Linked DNA regions of Homo sapiens: region 1 is linked to region 2. Evidence: promoter capture Hi-C in human tissues and cell types (Jung and others, 2019). All regions are on one chromosome and are shown on one strand. The core of a region is centred on a gene start or on the middle of the fragment in contact, and the rest is flanking DNA. Distances in the headings are between cores, read along the strand shown. Region 1 overlaps CP (ceruloplasmin). Region 2 holds the start of HPS3 (HPS3 biogenesis of lysosomal organelles complex 2 subunit 1).

Region 1 (3,663 bases), core at 384-2,883, 49 kb before region 2:
ATAGCTAATTTAAAATTAACCCAAAAAATGACAAAATTTTGTCTTCCAGTTCATCTTAAAACTAAATTCCTGAAAACAATCTTGAGTACCACAATTTTTAAAAACTAATTACACTGACATTTCCAGTTCCTGGGTCCTAGTTATCAAGGCTGTGTGTGTGTGTGTGTGTGTGTGTGTGTGTGTGTGTGTACAATATAAACCAAATACAACCAGATCCATTAACACTTGATGAATTTAGGTGAAACTCTCACTTACGTATGGAAAATCCCAGAAAGATCTGGAGCTGGAACAGAGGATTCTGCTTGTATTCCATGGGCTTATTATTCAACTGTGGATCAAGTTAAGGTAAAATACAAATCATTTGTTTTGTGACACTTCCCAAAATAGACACACAATTGAAGGAAGACAAGGTTAGTGTTTTCCTGTGGTCCAATTCTACGTTAAAATCCTAGGAAAATAAACTGTTTGCAATCTACTTTAGCAACTATGCTGCTACCTATGACACACAAGACAAAAATCTAACATTTCCTAATATGATACAGCTCAAAGGCCTTTCAAGATATTTGGGAAGTTTAGATTTTTGTCTTGTGGGTCACAGGTAGCCACTGAAAAATTGACCAAGAATGGCAGTATATTTGCATTTCAGATCCTTCATTCTGGTGGAATGAAGGAAGGCTTGGAGGGGGAAGAGACTGGAGGTTGGGAGGCCGTTGTAATACGTGAGGCAAATTTCAAGGACCTCTACTGTAAGGAGGGAGAAAAGAAATGGAGTCGGTTATAGATAGGTGGGTGAAGTGCCTGAGTGAGCCGGGGGAAGTAGCTCCTTGATAATTCAGTGTTCTGGCTCAAACAAATGAGTAAATCTGGTATTTGTGGTCCTATTTATTATTACACATTTCATTCATCTATGGATTTTTAGGGACTGCCATAGCGCTTGGCTCACACTCAAGAGTTCATGAGTTTATGGAACAAACCAACACTGTTCATTTGGGATTCTTTTAAAATCACTGCTCATTAGCTGAGCTAATTTTTGCCTCTGCAGACATTTCTGTTATGTCAGCATCACCCACATGACCTACCTACTACTCACCATTGTTCCAATTTAACTACTTCAAGTGAAAAGTTACTAAATTGGCAGTACCACATTGGGCAAAGTCTGTTACTTCAATTGGTCTCTCCAAAATTCCTGAGGCCCTGGGTGCAAAGTCTCAGTTCTCTGAAATCCTGACCTAATTCACAAGGGTTACTGAAGATTTTTCTTGTTTCCAGGACCTCTACAGTGGATTAATTGGCCCCCTGATTGTTTGTCGAAGACCTTACTTGAAAGTATTCAATCCCAGAAGGAAACTGGAATTTGCCCTTCTGTTTCTAGTTTTTGATGAGAATGAATCTTGGTACTTAGATGACAACATCAAAACATACTCTGATCACCCCGAGAAAGTAAACAAAGATGATGAGGAATTCATAGAAAGCAATAAAATGCATGGTATGTCACATTATTCTAAAACAATTTTTCTACTTTTTTATCATTTTCTCTTTCAAATAAAATTATTTTGGAGACCATTCATTTGTTTTGTCTTAAAATAAACCACTTCTGCCTCACTTTGTATGTCAGGTAGAATCCTGTTCAAAACAAAAAGGGGACTATGTTCAAAATCATTTGCTAATTTATTTTCCAATTCCAAAATCTCATTTCCTTTGAAATAATCCAAAACTAAGATTAAGGCTTTTGGTGCAAAGTGCCTAGAAAAGCAATGTGATATTATTGACTTTAAAGTATCCATTTCTCTCATTTGTAGTAAAATAAGTCCTATTACATCAAAAAGATTCTTTACATTAACCTAATAATCATATTTTCTTTGAAATAGCTATTGGTTTAAAATATCCTGAAAAGTAACATAAAACCATATGCTTTCCCTAGCTATTAATGGAAGAATGTTTGGAAACCTACAAGGCCTCACAATGCACGTGGGAGATGAAGTCAACTGGTATCTGATGGGAATGGGCAATGAAATAGACTTACACACTGTACATTTTCACGGCCATAGCTTCCAATACAAGGTAAGAGCTATCCATGGCAATTACTCTTGCTCTGTTTGAAAATGTTTTAATACAAGTGAAGAAAATATTTTCTCAGAGAGACTTATGAAAAAAAGCTGCAAAGAGTACAGCCGGTGCTTCATATCCGTGGATTCCCCACCCAGGATTCAATCATGGATTGAAAATATTCAGGAAAAAATAATTCCACTAAGTTCCAAAAAGCAAAACTTGGATCTGCTGCACTGAGTACTATGTTGAATCCATGCAAATGAAATGATATGTAGGCACTGTATTAGGTATTATAATAATCTAGAGATGATTTAAAGTATATGGAAGGATGTGCATAAGTTAAATGGAAATATGCCATTTTATATAAGGGACTTGAGCATCCATGGATTTTGGTATGGGGGCATTCCTGAAACCAATCCTCCATAGATACTGAGGGATGCCTATATAAGGCACAGCAATTTCAATTGACACACTAGCCTTTGTTACACATTGAGCTCTTCCTAGGATTTGCATTTTTAACTGAATTTTCATGGAGTTCTGCTCAGATTCCTGATTAAGGCAACTGAGCGGAATTGCTAACAAAGAGGGTAGGAATGTTCACATAATGATGGATGAGAGTAGAGACCACAACAAGACTTTATTATAACCCTTGCCCTGCCTGTTCTAAGTTCTGTATCTTAAATGGCCCATGGTGAGCAAGATCAGTTAGGTGACAAGCAACTGGTCTGTACATCTCAATCTTACTTCTATTCTTTCTCAGTACTGATTTCAGCAGAAGCCAGTGGCCCTCCTGGAAATGCTTTTTCCTTATGCTTTGGGCTAATTTAGAAAAGGCAGAAGTTATCAAAAAGCATACTGCAGAAAGCCTGTTTTGTTACCTGCATTTTGTTTTACATAGATATATTGTATTCTTAGTGGGCTTTCAATTCTATCCTTGCAGAAATAGACTATTGTCACCCAACTACTGTTTCCAGCCGAGACTCCCTGAAGTGCCTCTGGTTTTTGTCGTTTTCATCAGCCTCCTTTTCTGCTTCCTTTATTATTTACCTTGACTTAAAGCTTCAGACAAGCTAGGACAGATTCAGGCAAAAGTGAGGCTAGGGCTGAAATGGGGCCACAGCTGAGTTCCTTTTGTGTAGCTTAAGTGCTATGACAAACAGGCAAACCAGAATCAAGGTACAGGAGGTTTGTAGGTAGTCCTGATTGATGAATTCATTCTCATCACATCTTTCTTTCACACCCACTTGATGTGGATACCAAAGACTTATTAGGAATACAAAAACCACATTTTACCATTTGTATTAAACACAGAAACGAGCTCGATTTTTTAAAAACAGATTTATCCATTTTTTCAATATCCCTGAGCTGAACATTAACAAATGACATGAGTGAACTCTCATATACAATATTATACATTATTTGTCATTTTTCTAATTAAGCACAGGGGAGTTTATAGTTCTGATGTCTTTGACATTTTCCCTGGAACATACCAAACCCTAGAAATGTTTCCAAGAACACCTGGAATTTGGTTACTCCACTGCCATGTGACCGACCACATTCATGCTGGAATGGAAACCACTTACACCGTTCTACAAAATGAAGGTGAATATCCAG
Region 2 (3,568 bases), core at 145-2,644:
AAGTTCTCCACTTCATTAATAGCATAGCCACCAGCTTTTGCAACGTAAATACTGAACTTTACACCCATCTTGTAAAGTATGAATCGAAGGTAAGTGTATTAAAGGAATTATATGGTAAATTCTTCTGTAATCTAAAAGGGATCTAGTTTTAAATGTTGGATTTTTCTAAAATAGGATTCACCCACACAGTATTTCCTTGGTATTGCTTCACATTTCTGGTGTGAAAGAGTAACGGCTGCTCTTACAACTGTTTGTTTTTGTTTGTTTTGGGACGGAGTCTCACTCTGTCGCCTAAACTGGAGTGCAATGGGGCAATCTCCGCCTCCCCGGTTCAAGCGATTCTCCTGCCTCAGCCTCCCAAGTAGCTGAGACTACAGGCGCCCACCACCACGTCCGGCTAATTTTTGTATTTTTAGTACAGACGGGGTTTCAATAAATTGACCAGGCTGGTCTCGAACTCCTAACATCGTGATCCGCCTGCCTCAGCCTCCCAAAGTGTTGGGATTACAGGCGTGAGCCACTGCGCCCGGCCACAGATGTTTAAGAGAAGAGAGGGGGGCAGTCTGAGTTCTACTTACACACATTTAAAAATCAACACATAATGTGAGCTTTCAAAAACCGACCGGAAGTAGATGGAGGTACAGATGTGAAAGAACTGCCAAGAGTTGGAATAATTGTTAAAGCTGGGAGTACTTGGAGGTTCCGGGATACAGTACTAGTCTCCTTATTCCTACTTGTTTTTTTGGTAAGTCTTTGAAATCTGATGCACTAAAGAGTTTTTTGTTGTTGTTTGCTTAAGTATCCGAGATGAGTGGAATCCAGCCAGAGGCCTTTCTGCAGAAAACCAAGACGAAGAGATGTCAGCGTCTCCGCCCCGACAGAAGCAAGCTCATACCTATGCTTGCCGCGACAACCGCATAGCTCAATGCGACTTCAAGCAATCAGCGGCCAGACCCAGGGAGACCATCCGGCAAATTCCGGGAAGCAAGAAGTCCCATCCCTAGCTAGAGCTACAGCCCAGACGTTCGGTCCGCTAGCTAGGAGGCCTCAAGCTGGACCCCAGGCGGCCCCTGGCTCTCTAGATTACTCACCAGCCTCGCTGTAGGCCAGGCGCAACACCCGGCCCAGCGTGGAGAAGGCGCACCGCGGCTGGCACAGCTCCTGGCCGGCCACCGCGAACGCCTCCACCTTGCAGCCCGCCGCCACGAAAAGCGCGTCACGCCCCCCGCCACAGAACCGGTCCGGCTCCAGCTTGCAGGGCACCACCTGCTGCGACCCGAACGGGTGCAGGTTGTACAGCTGCACCATCCCGACGTCCGGCGGGATGGCACAGCCTGCCCGCCCTGCAGGGCGCCCGGAGACCCCGCGCTGACCGCGAATGTAGGACTACTTCCGCGAGCGAGCCAATGACGCCGGGTCACGTGAACGCCAGCCGGCCCCGCCCGCGGCTCCGCTACTTAAAGAGGCCGCCGCGGGGCGTGGCAGGCGTCGGGAAAGCGGTCACGCCAGCCTGGTCAGCCCGCGCTCTGGCGCTGCAGTGCTTTCGGTCTCTGCGCCTCCCACTCCGCCGCGCGAGCTTGCCACTGCTCTATGCTCAGTGGCCGGTGGGTGCGGGGACCGCTGGGTCCCTGCCTTTCGTCTTTTACTGCTTTGGGCCAGGCGGTATGTTTTGGCTTTTGAGTACGTTCTGACAATTCATCATCTATCTTGTAACATTTTGTACTTACTTTGAGGAGCGTTATTCATGTCTCTTCAGTAGTCCCTGAGCTTCTGGAGGATGGGGTTGCAAAAACTGAAATGGGGTGCAACTCGGGGCTAAACACTCTGAAGAGTTGCTTTAAAATAATGGAAATTCTAGAATAGTTCAGCTGGAAAGAGCAAAGCCTTGAACGTGCTTGGCAAAAAGATATTTGTTGAAAGAAAGAATCCATGGACTTCATCTTGTAGGCATTTGACAAAAGACTAGTTTGAGCCCCAGAGGATAGAAGAACTAGGAGGGAAATCCCCTGGCTTTCAGTCCAGTGCTCCTAAAACTATGCAGTAAATTATCTATTCCTGACATCTCAACGTGGAGTTCACGATCGCAACACTTTCCCTTTTCTAAAAAAATCAGATTTAGATAAAACAAGTAGTATAACTTTGTCCAGTTCACCTAGAAAATATATGTGTTAGCATGGATTGAGGGATGCTGTTTTATTTAGGCACACAGGGACATAAATGAAAGTGCAACATTTTCTTCAGTCAGTTTCCAGTTCAGAATTTGTAAATTAGATGCAATTGGATTGAAGTTAAACTTGCCTCCCTTTCCTAGGCCCTTCAGATGAATAAAGTACCTCTAAGTAATGGGAAACAACAGGTTCGTCAAACTCAGTGAGTTAGAGAAGTAAACATGGAGGTAGCTCAGGTCAGGAACTAGGGCTGCAAAAAATCACAGAAGGCTCCTATGGAAAACAACCAGACTAATAGTCCACAAGTTATTTGTTCTAGATACAAAACTTAAGAGCAAATATCAAAATCAATAGTAAAAAAGATTCCTTTCCACAAGTATCTGCCATATTATTCTTTTTGGCTTAATTTTCTTCTTCAAGACTTAATTATCCTAATTCAATTTTCTCCTAATGAAGACTGATATTAACTTTAGTGTAATTTCACCTGCATAAAAAGAATGTCTGTTTTGGAGAAAGAAGTGAGATTTGCTCAAAACCTGGAACCCCATTCCTTCCTAGAGATAGTGTCTTCTTCCTTGCTGTAGTCACTGCACCTGACTCATCTAAGATTCTTTGGGAAGAGACATGCTACCCAAGGGAAGGTGGGGCATGTGTCTGGTTTCCACGTTTGTCAGGAGCTGTGAGCAGGAGCTGCCCACTTGTATTCCTGTTACGAATGCAGGGGCAGCAATGGCACACCATCAATTCCTTGCGGGAGGTTGCATTTGTTTGCAAGGGCTGCCATAACAAAACACCACAGACTGGGTGGCTTACACAATAGATATTTCATTTTCACAGGTCTGGAGGCTAGAAGTCCAAGATAAGATGTCAGCAGGTATGGTTTCTCCTGAAGCCCCTTCTCCTTGGCTTGAAGATGACTACCTTTTTATTATGTGTTCCTATGGTCTTTCCTCTGTGTGCCTGCATCCCTGGTGTCCTTCCCTTGTCTTATAAAGATACCAGCCATATTAGATTAGGACCCACCCTTATGATCTTATTTAACCTTAATTATTTCTTAAAGGCCCTATCTCTATATACAGTCACATTCTGAGGTATTGGAGGTTACAGATTCAACATATGAATTTGGGGGGAAGACACAATTTAGCCCATAGCACATGCACTTAGGGTAGCACTCTGTTGAAAAGGGTTGTCTTGAGAACTTTCTTCCTTCCTTCCCTCCTTTCTCTCTCTTTCTTTCTTTTCTTTCTTATTTAAAGAGATGGGGTTTCGCTCTGTCACCCAGGCTGGAGTGCAGCAGTGTGATCATGGCTCACTGTACCCTTGACCACCTGAGCTCGAGCAATCCTCCCATCCCAGCCTCCAGATTAGCAGGAACTATAGGCACATACCACCATGCCTGG

Evidence for each region. Contacts are between HindIII fragments. The study calls those that stand out against the background at their distance.
Region 1: a contact is called between a fragment that was not itself captured here and the fragment with the promoter of HPS3 in region 2, in 4 of the 25 tissues and cell types used here (aorta, bladder, hippocampus and 1 more).

What each region holds. Positions count from the first base shown.
Region 1 is chr3:149,176,238-149,179,900 of GRCh38, reverse strand. It overlaps CP (ceruloplasmin), which reads left to right. Exons shown (of 19, transcript NM_000096.4): 15 at 239-345; 16 at 1,270-1,486; 17 at 1,922-2,061; 18 at 3,489-3,651. Among named protein-coding and RNA genes, the nearest start is that of CP, 44 kb to the left of the region's middle. The HindIII fragment of the contact is 9,435 bases long and covers 1-3,663 here.
Region 2 is chr3:149,127,464-149,131,031 of GRCh38, reverse strand. HPS3 (HPS3 biogenesis of lysosomal organelles complex 2 subunit 1) reads right to left here and starts at 1,394. Exons shown (of 17, transcript NM_032383.5): 1 at 1,092-1,394. The coding sequence starts at 1,308. RefSeq lists enhancers at 853-1,352, 1,134-1,393. The HindIII fragment of the contact is 14,149 bases long and covers 1-3,568 here.